Regions from separate parts of the Homo sapiens genome. Here region 2 is linked to region 1. The links are contacts of gene promoters, found by promoter capture Hi-C in human tissues and cell types (Jung and others, 2019). All regions are on one chromosome and are shown on one strand. The core of a region is centred on a gene start or on the middle of the fragment in contact, and the rest is flanking DNA. Distances in the headings are between cores, read along the strand shown. Region 1 holds the start of SETD2 (SET domain containing 2, histone lysine methyltransferase). Region 2 holds the start of LOC124909375 (a long non-coding RNA gene).

Region 1 (7,239 bases), core at 2,900-5,399:
AACAAAACTTATGTGAATGAGTAATTTATTCTAAATTATGCTGCCTTTATTCTGTATACTGACTAAATCTAAATCTTCAATTGTATTGAGCCTCATATATCTACCTAAATTTATAAGGTAGCCAATTTTTTGTTGTATGGCTATTAGTTTACAGGCATTAGGTACTTTGTCAGACATTATCTCATTTCCCGCTCCCCAAAATGCTAAGATGTTGATAGTAAATGTTTCTGTGCTACAGAGGAGAAAATACATATTTATTTATTTTATTCATTTTTTTTGTTTGAGACTGAGTCTCACTCTTGTTGCCCAGGCTGGAGTGCAGTGATGCGATCTCTGTTCACTGCAACTTCCACCCCCCACCCCGGGCTCAAGCAATTCTCCTGCCTCAGCCTCCCGAGTAGCTGGGATTATAGGCGTGCGCCACCATGCCTAGCTAATTTTTGTATTTTTAGTAGAGATGGGGTTTCACCGTATTGGCCAGGCTGGTCTTGAACTCCTGACCTCAAGTGATCTGCCTTCCTCGGCCTCCCAAAGTGCTGGGATTATAGGCATGAGCCACTGTGCCCGACCTACATTTCTTTTTTTTTTTGAGATGGAGTTTTGCTGTTGTTGCCTAGGCTGGGGTGCAGTGGCGCGATCTTAGCTCATCATCGCAACCTCCGCCTCCCAGAGTTCAAGCGATTCTTCTGCCTCATCCTCCAGAGTAGCTGGGATTACAGGCATGTGCCACCACATCCGGCTAATTTTGTATTTTTAGTAGAGACCAGGTTTCTCCATGTTGGTCAGACTGGTCTCGAACTCCTGACTTCAGGTGATTCGCCTGCCTTGGCCTCTCAAAGTACTGGGATTACAGGCGTCAGCCACCGCACCCGGTCTACATTTCTTCTTTCTACTACCCTTACCAGGTACCCGAAGCCTACCTGTGGAGAGTAGGCTTTTGGCCTTTGTCTTCCCTAAGGCAAGAGATGATTTTGTTTCAGGGTCACTACTGGCAACCCTGGAATCTCCTGGGATAGGGTTGGTCTTGACCCACAGGAGACAGTAACAGTAGGAGAAAGTATAAATATATATATATTTTTTTGAGATGAGTTTCGCTCTTGTTGCCCAGGCTGGTGTGGAATGGCATGATCTCGGCTCACTGCAACCTCCGCCTCCCAGGTTCAAGTGATTCTCCTGCCTCAGCCTCCCTAGTAGCTGGTATTAGACATGTGCCACCACGCCGGGCTAATTTTTGTATTTTTAGTAGAGACCGGGTTTCTCCATGTTGGTTAGGCTGGTCTTGAACTCCCAGCCTCAGGTGACCCACCTGCCTCAGCCTCCCAAAGTGATGGGATTACAGGCATGATCCCATCACACCCAGCTGAAATTATAAAGGCTTTTACGATTTTAGCACTCTGGGAGTGAATGCCTCAAATATTTCATGCTAGGGCTTTTTAGACATTTTTCCTTTAAACATGTGCAGAAAGTAGGGGATGGTCAGTATTTAATAACATGAAAAACCAAATTATTCCACAGCTTTGATCAGGAGGCCAGGCCCAAGTACGTGCTCCAAGCATGCATTCTCTTTGACTTAAAAATATGAGTCCAAAGAACTCTGAGTGCAGTTATAGATGAAGGCACTGCCTGTAAAAACCCAGTTCATTTGTTTCTGTTTGGGGCTTAGAATTCTCACTGATTCCCATGGCTTGACAAGCTTATTGCACTGGGTTCTGACCAAACCAATGCTATCATGAGACCAGGCATTCCAGTGCCCAGCTGTACCTCCTGCAAGAGAATTGCTTACTTTCTTATTAAGGAAATAGGAAACCTGCACCTGACTGCTTTTTTCTCATTCACCTCAGCTTAGGTCCTTACCACCTCACATTGTTTCAACCACCTCCACCTAAAATTGTCCTTTCCTGCCTGTCCAAGGTCAAGTGACTCCCAATTGCCTATGTGGCATCTAAGGCACAGGGCCTCAATCTATTCTTTCAAAGCCCAAAAGATAACACTTACTGGGCACTTACTCAATGAAAGGCACTGTGCAAGCATGTTCACAACATTCTCTGCACAGTGGCTAATACCCCATTTACAGGTGAGGCACGGGAAGCATAAGAAGCAAGCATCCCAATGTCACAGGGCTAGAAAGTGCCTGGTACACAATGCCAGGTAGAGCTACCTCTTAAACTCTGCACTATCATGGCTGAAGAATGCTGACGTTTACTGAAAGTTTAAGCCTTTAACAAATAGCTCATTTAATCCTCACAATAATGAGAAGACCTGTCGGCAGCAATATTCTCATTTTATAATGAGAAAAACCACAGGGAAATTAGTAATAATCACGGTGTGTAAAAAAATGGCCTTGGGAGATTCGAACCTAGGGAGTCAGATGGACCCTGGACCTCCATGCTAACCCTAAAGGTACCAGGAAAAAAAAAAACAAAAGCCAAAATAATCCCTAAGTGAAAAACAATGATTATAAAACACTAATAGACACTGTAGCCTACATACATATAAAGGCTATTTTAAAAAGTTAACCACTGAAGGATGTTTATTCTTTCGTATCATATTTCAGTTTTTTTTTGTTGTTGTTGTTTTATTTTTTTGAGACGGAGTCTCGCTATATCGCCCAGGCTGGAGTGCAATGGTGCGATCTGGGCTCACTACAACCTCCGCCTCCTGGGTTCAAGCGATTCTCCTGCCTCAGCCTCCCGAGTAGCTGGGATTACAGGCGCACCACCACGCCCAGCTAATTTATTTTTTATTTTCATTCATTTATTTATTTTTTTGAGATGGAGTCTTGCTCTGTCGCCAGGCTGGAGTGCAGTGGCACAATCTGGGCTTACTGCAACCTCCGCCTCCTGGGTTCAAGCGATTCTCCTGCTTCAGCCTCCCGCGTACCTGGAATTACAGCCGTGCGCCACCACGCCCGGCTAAATTTTGTATTTTTAGTAGAGATGGGGTTTCGCCATGTTGGCCAGTGTGGTCTGGAACTCTTGACCTCAGTTACTCCGCCCGCCTCGGCCTCCTAAAGTGCTGGGATTACAGGCGTGAACCACCGCGCCCGGCCCACTTTCAGTTTTTAACCACTGTTTCTCAATTGGAAGACACATCCTTTCCTTTCCGTTACCAATTGCTGGTAAAATCCGATTCAAAATTCTAGTGGAAAAACAACAGCAACAACAACACAAAAAACGCTAACCCTATGAACCCCCAATGTCAAAATGATCTATCGCCAAAAACTCTTCAGCGTCTAGAAAGTTTAGCTATTGGATTTACGCGTTCCTATCTCTCCTTCCAAAAATAACAACTCGTAGCTCTTTCAAGTTATTCTACTTAGTCTCATCTTATCATTTCTGTAGGAAAGTGATTAATACCCTTTTTTTCATGACATTGCCTCTAAGGCCCCAAGAACCACACAGGAGAGGGGAGCTGCCGCCTTGGAGACTTCGGGTGGGGGCAGAGCGCCGCGCCGAGGTGGAGGTAGGAGCCCCGAGGGCACAGCGGGAAGGAAGGCGGAGGAGGCTGCCGGGAGCTCGGCCTCCGAGCAATCCCCCGCCTCGCTGGGCTTCCATGCTTGCTAAAGGGTCGAGATGAACGGGCAAGGGAGAGAGAGGGCGAGGAAAAATAAAAAAGAGAGGGGCGAGTGGGACGAGGGGCCCGGGAGCAGCCGCGGCCGCGTTACCTCAGAGCCCAGAGGCCTGGGGGAGGGGCCCTCGGCGCTGCCGCGGACTCCGGGGCTCCCGGCGGGCAGGTCCTGCAGGGCCGCGGAGCGAGAAGGCTGATGTCTCGGGTGTCTCGGGGAGTTCTCCCGACGTCGCCTGCTGTTTGTCAGTCGCCAGCTGTGACACGGTAGCGGGCCGGGTCACGCTGCCCCCGGCCGCCAGGCGGGTTGCGGGAGGGGTCGCGGTGCCGCCTCTCCAGGTCCGGTCTGGCCCACATCACTGGGGCCGGGGGTTTATTGTTCCGGAGAGCCACAGGCACGGTCGGCCTGGACCCGCCGGGCAGTGTTCCGCTCTGCCCGTCCCGGCCTGGGGTCAAGCCAACAGCTGCAAGGCACGCCGACTGGCGGCAGATCGGTGGCCCGTGTGTGTCTCTTTAAGGGGCCGGGCCTGCGAAGCTGAGGGGCGGGTGGGGTGTGCGTCGCTCCCGGTGTGAGGGTGAGAGGGAGAGAGCGGCTGGCGGGCGTCCGAGGGAGGGAGGGAGCGACGAGCGAGGTAGCGACGCGGGCCGCCCCTGCCGCCGCCGCCGCCGCCGCCGCCGCCGCCGCGGTCGGACCTGCGGCCTCCTCCCCTCCCCTCCCCCGCGTCGCCCTGCTGCGGGGAGGGGGCTCGCGTCGCCGTCTCCAGCCGCTCCCGATGAAGCAGCTGCAGCCGCAGCCGCCTCCGAAGATGGGGGATTTCTACGACCCGGAGCACCCGACCCCTGAGTAAGTATCAGCTCCGCGGCCCCCCGCTGCTGTCGGCCGCCTTATCCCCAGCCGAGGGCGGCGCGTCCTGACGGGTGGCGGCGCGGGCCGGCGCGAGGAGTAACAGGCCCACGGTGGCCTCGCGCGGTCGGTGTCGGGAGCAGGCCCGCGCCGCCACTTCGAGCCGCTTGGCCGGGGCCGCAGCAGGCCCGCGGTTGGGCCCGGCGTTGGCGCCGCTGCTCGTGTCGCGGCGGCGGTTGGGCCGGGCCGGTGGGGGAGGGGCGGCCACGGTCCCTACGGTTACCGCCGTGTCCGCACCGACCCGGCCATCCCGGGGCTCGGCGGTCCTCTCGGGCTCCTCGTGGCTCGTCCGGGCCCCGCTGCTAGCCAAAGGGCAGAGTCGGAGGAGCTGCCGGTGCCGGGCCCGGCAAGAGGGCGCCGGTGAGGGTAGGCCGCGAATCCCCGGGCTCGGGTGGAAGCTCGACCCGTCGCCCGACCTCCCCGCGACGGCGGCGCCTCGGACCGGAAGGGCCTAGCGCGGGTTGCCTGGCCCCCGGGCCGTGGAGGGGCCCGCGCTGCACTCCTGAGTTTGATTTTTTCCTCCTGGGAACTCGATCCTGGCCTTGCAGTGCTTCCGGATTCACATTGTGCACCTTTGGCACTTGGGTTTTGTAATGGCGAGGTTTGTGTGGTCCCGTTGTTGAGGTGACACCGGGTTTGTTTTTCCGCTTGAAAATGAAAGCCTCCTGAGGGACATACATTTTCTTGCAGGTTGTGAGATTTTCACACTTTCGGACACAATTTTCTTGGTAACAGGAATCTCTTACCCTAAACGGATGACTTTCTATTTCTTGTGAAGACTTGGTTAAAAACCAAGAATCGTTTGAGGATTCTCTAAAGAAGACAATGTTGTGGAAAACCGACACACAGTTTTGCCCAATAGTAATTTTTCAGTCTAGGACACCTTTACATTTCTCTTGAGGTCTGAATCTGCTGCTGTATCTGCTATCTCAGAAAGCCTGGAGTCACTTCTTTCCCTGAACCCTCACGAGACCATTGTTTTGAAAAGCCGTTCTTAAACACCGTTTGCTGGTGTTAGACCTAGGAATATACTATTGATTTAAAACTTATCGGTTGATAGGGGTTTCACATGAAACTGTCAAACTTTTATGACCAGGATGATTCCAAGAGCTTTGCTGTTTTGACACATTTTACCTTAGGTTTGCTCTGGCTCGTTTTTGAATCCCTTGCCACATCTTCTCACATTGGTCCAGAAATGTCTGGATCTTAATTGATAGTTTTGATTGCAACACAAACGGATTCTGTTGAGGTGTTGGTCATTTCTGCACAACAAGATAAATCATTATTTTGCTTTTCTAAAAACCCAACTCTTACTTGCAATAGTAAGTTAACATGGCTTTTTCCTTTCATGGGTTCTTGGCCATTGGTTAACATTACCTTAATTAGATTGGTCTTTTTGTTTTGCTACTGGCAGGGTCAGTTAGGTAAGATTGTTTTGATTTACTGCACCATCAGTCCAATTACAAAGCTCATGTTATAGGTTTTTAGTTTGAAAAACCTCAAAAAAAATTTTATATCACGATTCAATAAATGCTTATATAGCACTTGCTCTGTACAAAGTAACATGCTAACCCCTGAATAGGCTAAGTGCCTGCTTTCACTTCCTTTTACCAGGTTGTTTGGTGAAGTCCGGAAGCTTTAAGGATCACATCCTTACACTTCTTGGGGAAAAACAATTTTTCATAATATGTGGGAAAATGGACTCAGAAGTGCATCTTTGGTAGACCTGAGTGGGGAAGGAATCAAGAATGTTTTATGGTTTTACATGTTTTGGAGTTTTTATTTTTATTGCTTTAATGTAGTAGAAATCCACTGCTTTGGATTTCTAACAGTGATTATATATTTTTAAATTCTCGTGTATTTTTTCCTTTTTTTTTTTTTTAGAGGCAGGGTCCCACTCTGTCACCCAGGCTGGAGTGCAGTGGTGTCATCATGGCTCATTGCATCCTTGAACCTCTGGGCTTAAGCAGTCCTCCTGCCTCAGCCTCCTGGGTTGGGACTATAGGCATGTGTCACCACACCCAGCTAATTAAAAAAAAATAAATTACGTTACTGGTTTTGAATCCCTGGCCTCAAGTGAGCCTCCTGCCTTGGCCTCCCAAAGTGCTGGGATTGCAGGCATGAGCCATTGTGCCAGGCCTCTTCTTGTGTATTAACCTGTATGGAGTAAAGAATTGTAACATGTTTTTTGTTGTTGTTGTTTTGTTTTTCCTTTTTTTCATAATACTATAAAGACTGGAGGGGATCATGGTAGGTATCCTGAGCAATATCACCTGTTTGGCATATGAAGAAAATGAAGGCTAGAGAAGTGAAGTGACAGCAAACTCTTGAGATAGTAAGCTAGTTAGTGTTTATAATGCTAGAGAGAGGAGAGAGAAAGGCAGTATAGGGTTTAAAAAACCTGGATTTCAGAGTCAGACCTGAATCTGAACACTATTTTAACCTTGGACGATGACTTCATCTCTCTGAACTTGGGTTTTCTCATCTTTTATATAGGTATTATAATGGTTAACAACTTACTGGGGCTTTTTGGGAGGATTGAATGAGATAATGCATGAAGAGCACTTGGCGCAGAATGTGGCACGTGTAAGTGCTTCTAGTTGGGGTCATCAGGGAAAAGTTAAAAGGTAGGATTTAAGTTGAGGATGAAAAGACTAGGTGGGCAACATGGCTCAGGGGAGAAATGACCAAGTGCCCTTTTTAGACTTTGGATGGTTTGAAATGGTACTTAGACATATGAAGAAATTGAGGCAAAAATGTAAATTCAGTTT
Region 2 (7,032 bases), core at 21-2,520, 230 kb after region 1:
CGCTCTGTCACCCAGGCTGGAGTGCAGTGGCGCTATCTCAGTTCACTGCAACCTCCACGTGGCTCCCAAGCTCAAGCGATCTTCCCACCTCAGCCTCCCAAGAAGCTGGGACCACAGGTGCGCACCACTATGCCCAGCTAATTTTTGGTACAAAAACAACATGGTTTCACCAGGTTGCCCAGGCTGGTCTCAAACTCCTGAGCTCAGGCAGTCCACCCACTTCAGCCTCCCAAAAGTGTTGGAATTACAGGTGTGAGCCAGTGGACCTGGCCAATGATGTGTGATTTTGTTGTACCAAAAAAAAAAAAAAAAAAAAAAAAACAGGAGGGGAACAAACCTGTCTGGAATATGGCAAAACATTACTTTTATTGACTCTGCAGGAGGTGAGTATATGTGTTAGGTTATTCTCCGGACTTTTCTGTGTGCCTGAGATATATCATAATGAAAACTGTGGGAAAAAAACCAAAGGGCATGTGTAGTTCCAGGCTCCTGTCAGTGAGTTCTAGATAAAAGAGGCCCTGCCATGTGAGGACCTGCTTCCTGTTAGGTCTTACAGGTCATTTGTAGTGGAGCACAAGACCTGCTCTGAGGCCCTGTCCTGAGCCCACTGAGCTGGGCAGGTGCAGGGCCCTGTTTTGTTTTTTCTCACCGCAGCCCAGGGACCAACCATGCTGGACATTGAATTGGGTTCTGCTTCAGCTCATCATATTCTTCTGCTTTGCTCTAATCTGGCCTCTTTTGAGGCAGTGGAGCATGGTGGAACAGGTTTGCCTCCCAGTCGTTGAGAGCTTGGCTTTTGGGGCTGTCCTTCTAGAGACTTTGGGCAGGTGGACTTCTAGCATCCTGTACCTGGCAGGGCCTGCTACTCGGTCACTCCCTTGGTTGCCAGGAAGCCTAGCCTTAGCAAGGAGTTGTGCCTGTATTTGTAGGCCCCAGAGAAAAGCAGACTCTTCTGACTTTAACAGATCCAGAGCAGAGGGCTTGCTCAGGTTATTTAGGAAGGCAGATTAGAACATTGGTTGCCTAACACAGGGCCAGACCTATGTGGACGTAACTTTAGACTGCAGGGTCCAGGGATTGGGGATGATGGACTTTCCAGGAAGAGCAGGATGCAGCAGAGGCCGTGTCCATCCCAGGGGATCTTGCTTTTTATTTGTACCCCAAGTCTGGAAAGGGGCTCTCATGCAGGATGCTTATGGATTGGGAGCTGATTCCAGAGAACCCCCTAGGCCATAGCCCCTGCTACAGCCTCCTTTGCCACTGGAGAGAAAGAAGTGACCTTCCAGTCCATTGGAGAGATGACCCCTGAGGCCATTCGCCAGTGAGCATCCTTCTTCCTCGGCTGCTGGGAGGCGAGAACAGCCTACTTCAGTCAGGGTCACTCTGGGTTGAGCCCAGGTGCCAGGTGTGAAGCCCCACCAGCACCCGCCATTCTGGAGTGTGCTGAGAGGAGTGTGGTGCCCACTCAGGGGTGCTTTCAACTAACACTGTCCTGCCTTCAGTGGGACAAGGCCTTATGGAGAACATACCTTTTAAGTCTGGAATCCAGATGGTAGGGTTTGGGTGGCAAAGGTCCAGAGGCATGAATCTGCAGTGTGAAAGGGTGGGTGGTATAGCCTCTTGTTGGGGAGGCATGAACAGACATCACCCCAACTCTCCTTTACACAGTGTCCCTGGGGGCCCCTTCCAGTCTGACCCCCTCACCATCTCAGGAGTGACGCCAAGGGAGTTACACAGATCTGCATCTGAGACCAAGGGCCCAACCTGGATGGGAAAGACTAAGTTGTCTCTGATGCGTCCCTGACCCAGGCCCTACAGAGAGATGGAGGGGGCGCCCTCCTCTTCCTCTTGTTCCCTAGTTTCTCCTCTTATGCCCTGACCAGGATTCCTCCCTGAGTCATTCCATCCCACACGGCCACTCAGCTCTGAACTCTAATGACTGGGTGACCCCAGGGCCTGCTGCCTGTGAGTGTCTCGGCTCCCTATGTCCCATTAGCTGGCAGAGAGCAGGGTCCATCTGCCTCAGTTACTCTCCAGGTCACTCAGTGTCCCCTGCCTGGTGGTCAGTTCCATATATTGATGTAGCTAGTTCATCATGCTTTAAATTTTTTTTTTCTGCTTTAATTTAGGGACTTAGGGGAAGAACACATGTTGAGAAGATTCTTGGTTCAGCAGCAGTCCCTGAAATGAAAGGACATAGACAGATGGAGTAAGGTCAAGCTTTGGAAGCAGTTCCCGGGTTTGAGGCCAAGCCCTGCCAGTTAATTTTCTAACCCTGGGCAAGTCACATTGCCTCAGTGAGCCGCAGAATCTTCAACCAAAGGTGGAAAAAAATGAAATAAAACTTGCTTCACCTGACGAACAGAGCAAATGCCATACCTGTTTGCCCAGCTAGTGCTGGGGCTCTGGGCAGAAGGAAGGCACCGTGAGGTCCTCCCGAGAGAGTGAAAGGACTCTGGACACACCTCGAAAAGGCAGAAGTAACTTTTACATAAAGCATGTGCCAGCTTTGCAAATAAGGCAACAGTTGGGGGAAATGTGAGGCAATGGATGGGAGTAGAAATAAGGAAATGTGACTTAGAAGTTTGTGATTAGGAACCACTTTGTAGAGCCTCGCTTATTTGCTGCATTAGATAGTCCTTGGAAATAAGCTGAGTGGTCTCATTTTGCAGATTCATTTGTCTAACCAGATACACTGTAGGGCCAGGGTTTGTGGCTAAGTAAATGAAAATCCAGCAGGATTGGAGGGAGCCACCCCAGGACCTTGCCCCTCACCAGCCATCTTGAAGAGCCACTCGCCTGCCTGCCTGTGTTCCTGCCCCACTGCCTGAGGAGACCTTTTCAGAATTATGTTAGCTATTCTAACAGTTCCTTTGCCTTTCCTTATGCATTTTATAGTTAGCTTGTTAATATCTATTAGAAAAAGCTTGCTGGGATTTTGATAGAATTGCATTGAATCTATAGATCCAGATTCCTTTTTAAAATTTGTATTATTCTCCTAGGATAAATCCTGTCCTATCCCCATACAACCAAATCCCCATTGGGTGGGAGTGAGCTCCAGCAGCTCCACCAGCCCAGGCTCTGTGGGAAGAAAGGATGCATTCCTACCCCTAGATGGGCCCTACTTCTCTGGGCTGACTCTTCCCTGTCTCTGCCAGCCCTCTTGTAGCTAACTCTGTAGAGGCATGGATGACTCATCCCTAAGGCAGCTCCCTTCCCCCAGCCCCCTGTGTACTGCCCAGATAAGATGTGCCCTGGAAAGCTGGCCCATGGAAGAGGGCATTCAGGGGCGTTCATGTCAGTGTCAGCTGCTTAGCTGCTTTTTTTTTTTTTAAAAAGCTCTCCGTCACTTCTTCCTGATGGGAGGTTGGCTGATATGTGCCATGGAGGCATGTCTAGGGCAGCGTTTGTGGCTGACAGCCATTGCCACCCTGCCTTGTGGGATGGATGGACTGTTGGGTTGGGGCTGACAGGTGGGAGGAGAAGGGAGGAGGCACTTAACCAGGAGCACTCGCCTCCTCCTATGCCAGAAAGTGCCTGAACAAGCAAGTCCCGACCTCCCAACCTCCACAGCCACCACCTCCCTGTGGCTTTGTATGGAGGTCTGCACACAGCTGGAAAAGTCGGTCACCATCAGAGATAGTTGTTTGACCGGTGCTGGGTGTCACATATTGCAAAAGCAATGAGGCCACTAGCCTTCCTTCTTCAGAGATGGAAAATCTGTTCCCCAGCTCAATGTGTGCATGACCCTCTTGTGGAGAGACTTCCCACCCCAGCTAAGGCCCAGCCCTGGCCCAGTGCCCAAACCCTTGAGTCCAGCCAATGCCAGGCCTCTCTGCTCTGTGTGCTGGGCCCCACTGATGGTTTCCACACACCAGGGTGTATCACAGATCATGGTTGTTTGATCCATGACATCAGCTTGATTTGGCATGCATTGTTCCACCGTAGTGGTACCGACCAGGGCGGCTCCCATCACGCCTCCTGAGTTCTTTCAGTCCCACTGTAGAGGATGTCTACATCTGGTGATGTCCCAGTCATGGGCAGTGGAGATCTCCTGCTGAAGCAGCAGCACAGGGACCCACGACTGCCTCGTTTTTCCTGACCCTGTTTCTTGGGAATAGGCCTGGGAATGTGGGAGAATGAATCAAGAGAGAACTGGTTTAAGGAAGATGGTGAAGCCGACTCACCATGTGCTGGCACCGGGCACCTCCCTTCTGGGTAGGGTGGGGTAGGAGCACAGCTGAATCCTTTCTGTGTGCATTAAGTCTTGATATCTTGTATGTCCTGATCTCAGCTTCCAAAGCCCCTCTTATGAAGTCTTCACCTCTGTTCTGGGACTAATGTGATCTGCATTTATAGGTGAAGAAACTACAGTCCAGGCAGGTGAAGTGACTTGGCTAAAATTTCCTTGGCTAAAATCCTCCAACTTTTGAAAGGGAGTGGAGCTGGCACTGAGACCCCTCCCTGTGTGGGGAAAAGAGTCTTTGGCAGAGTGCAGCAGCTGCTGGCAGTTTGCCACTCAGGGCAGCCTTATGGGGTTGAGCACCATCCACTTTCCCAGAGTGGTCTGTGGGCTAGATTGGGCCCTGGGAGGGTGAGGGGCAGTGGGCTATGCAGGCCCCTGTCCCCCAACATCTGGGTCCCACATGGCCAGTGTGACCAATCCAGTTCTCACCTTATGGGCCCTTTGGGGCTTAGCTCATCTGCCATAAACGTTTACTCCTCTCCTGTTTTAAAATTTAAATTGATATTTACAACCGGGTGCTGTGGCTCACGCCTGTAATCCCAGCACTTTGGGAGGCTGAGGCAGGAGAATGGAGTGAACCCGGGAGGCGGAGCTTGTAGTGAGCCGAGATTGCTCCACTGCACTCCAGTGGACGACAGAGCGAGACTCCATCTCAAAAAAAAAAAAATTTTCAATTGATATTTACATAAATTATAGATTTTTTTATTGTAGAAAACTTAGAAACTACAGATCAACATGTATCTGTGCATATCATGCTGTTTTGTAACATTTTTTCATGAGCCGTGTCATGACTATCTTTTGGTAAATACACTTTCATGAAATTATGGCAGCTTAATATTTCTTTGAGAGTACCATGATTTATTTTTCAGTCTTGGGGTTTTTTGTTTTGCTTTTGGCAGACCAGTTTTTTCTAACGCCTTAAGTACCCACTAGCTATGGGCTTTCAGGTGGGATGGGTGCAAAGTTCAAACTTGTCAGTGTAGAGCACCTTGGTTAGGTTCTGCAGCGTCTGGGATGAGAGTGGGTGCAGACCGCATGATGCAGATGCGATGGCAGCTCCAGCAGGGCAGGGGCCTCATTTAACTAACACTCAGCCCTGGTCATTGCCTGGAACAGCCGTTGGCTGCTTATAAGCCATCCCTCAGGGGCCTTTGGGTAGGCCTTGGTGCCAACACGTGGCCATAGCTGTTGATCTGTCTTGGTGGGGGCTCCCATACAGATCTCATCCCCAGCCAGCTCTGGCTTCTCCGGCCTCCTTGTTTTTAAGGCAAGGGCTTGACTGTACTACTTCTGAAGCTCCTTCTGCCTCTAAGACCTGTGACCTAAAATTGTAATTTTTAGGGCTGAGGAAGGCTTCTCCTGGCAGTGGGGAGAGCTGAGAGGCTGGGCTCCCGTTGAGGGAGGGAGTTTCCAGGATAATGCTGTAGGCTGAACTCCACTGTGGGGTAGGCTGCAGGAGTTTTTCCTTTGAGGAACACTTGAGCACTCAGAGCCCTGGCACAGCCACCTGCAGCCCTGGCCAGGCCCCAGTCACTGTGTCAGGTAGCTTCTCTACTGCAGTTGCTGGTCCCTGAGGAGCCAGATGCAGGAAGCTGGTGTGGGGTCCACCCCTAGGCCAGAGAGCAGGGTGTGGATTCTGCCTCCGGCTCTTCCTTCAACTCTGGCACCTTGGATAGTCTTTCTGGACTGTTTTCCACATTGAGAAAATGTCAGTGACACCCTCTTCCTCTGTGGAAGGGTGGTCTCGAGAGGTGGCCTCTGAGAGGCCATGTGTGGAGGCTGCCCCTACTGGGGAGGGTGCATTATCTCATGCTTTCTGGCCTGTGGTTTCAGGTGGGGGCACAAAGGCGCTCCCACTCCTTTTTCTGAAACCCGCTGAGGACGCATTTGCCAGGACTTGCTTGGAGGCCTGTCCACCCCCTGAGGCTGTGATGTGGCCCTGTCCTGCCCATGGTCACTTCTTGTGTCATGTGCTCCAATAGACCTTGTCCTCTTTGTGTGGCCAGAAGGACAGGAGGCTTGGGGTGGGCTGGATAAGAGAAGGGAAGGGAGGTTTTATTGCCTTACACTGTACCCGTTCTTCAGGCTGGGGCCACAGTTGCCTTGCTGGGTGACAGCTGGAGGACAGTCTCCTCTGCCCACGAGTGGGGAAGCCACTGGGCTCTTTAAAAGTCTCATTTGCTGCAAAGCCAGCCATTGAGTGTTCTAAAGAAAAATATCAACCACCAAACAAAAACATCCCTGTACTAAATTGTCCTTTGCCCTCATAGCCTGGTGGTACTTTAGGCCACTCTAGGGCACTCTGCCAGAAGAGATCCCAGAGGTGTTGTAGCTATTATGAATTATGCTGCCAGGATCGTGCGTATATAGAATGCTTTGTTTTGCTTGCTCCTGTCTTGTTACTATTTCTATGGAATAATTTCCCCAGAGCAGGGTTACCGGGTCAGGGAGTTTGAACATTTTAATGGCCCTTGAAAGAAAGACCAGATCAGCCTCTAGAGCAGTTGTGTACCTCATTTGGGGTAGTTGCCTCTCCCCTCATTTTCATGCTTCTGTCGAGTCTGGCCTCTGGCAGCAGCAACTGAAGCCTTGTTATTTATATTGGGGACAAGGGGTAGGTCTCTATGTGCAGAGCCTAAAGCAAACAGAGGATTATTAGGGGCATGTCTGAGTGTCATGAGTGTGTTTTCCTGGCAGAGCTCCAGTGTCTCTGTACTCTGAATATTAAAAATGAAAGTGTTCTTTGATCAAAGTTGCCAGTCTCTCTGGTCAGTGGTGGCCTCTGC

What was found. The method cuts DNA at HindIII sites, captures the fragments that hold promoters and counts their contacts. A contact is called where the count stands out against the background at its distance.
Region 2: a contact is called between a fragment that was not itself captured here and the fragment with the promoter of SETD2 in region 1, in 1 of the 25 tissues and cell types used here (hippocampus).

The regions. Positions count from the first base shown.
Region 1 is chr3:47,161,023-47,168,261 of GRCh38, reverse strand. SETD2 (SET domain containing 2, histone lysine methyltransferase) reads left to right here and starts at 4,149. Exons shown (of 21, transcript NM_014159.7): 1 at 4,149-4,408. The coding sequence starts at 4,338. It overlaps KIF9-AS1 (KIF9 antisense RNA 1), which reads right to left and starts at 3,892. Exons shown (of 7, transcript NR_033373.1): 1 at 3,665-3,892. RefSeq lists silencers at 3,647-3,696, 3,747-4,496, 4,547-4,856. The HindIII fragment of the contact is 7,701 bases long and covers 423-7,239 here.
Region 2 is chr3:46,931,808-46,938,839 of GRCh38, reverse strand. The region is part of intron 2 of CCDC12 (coiled-coil domain containing 12); the gene reads left to right. LOC124909375 (a long non-coding RNA gene) reads left to right here and starts at 84. Exons shown (of 2, transcript XR_007095901.1): 1 at 84-117; 2 at 2,130-2,358. RefSeq lists enhancers at 3,047-3,341, 4,308-5,075, 6,904-7,013. The HindIII fragment of the contact is 7,811 bases long and covers 1-5,175 here.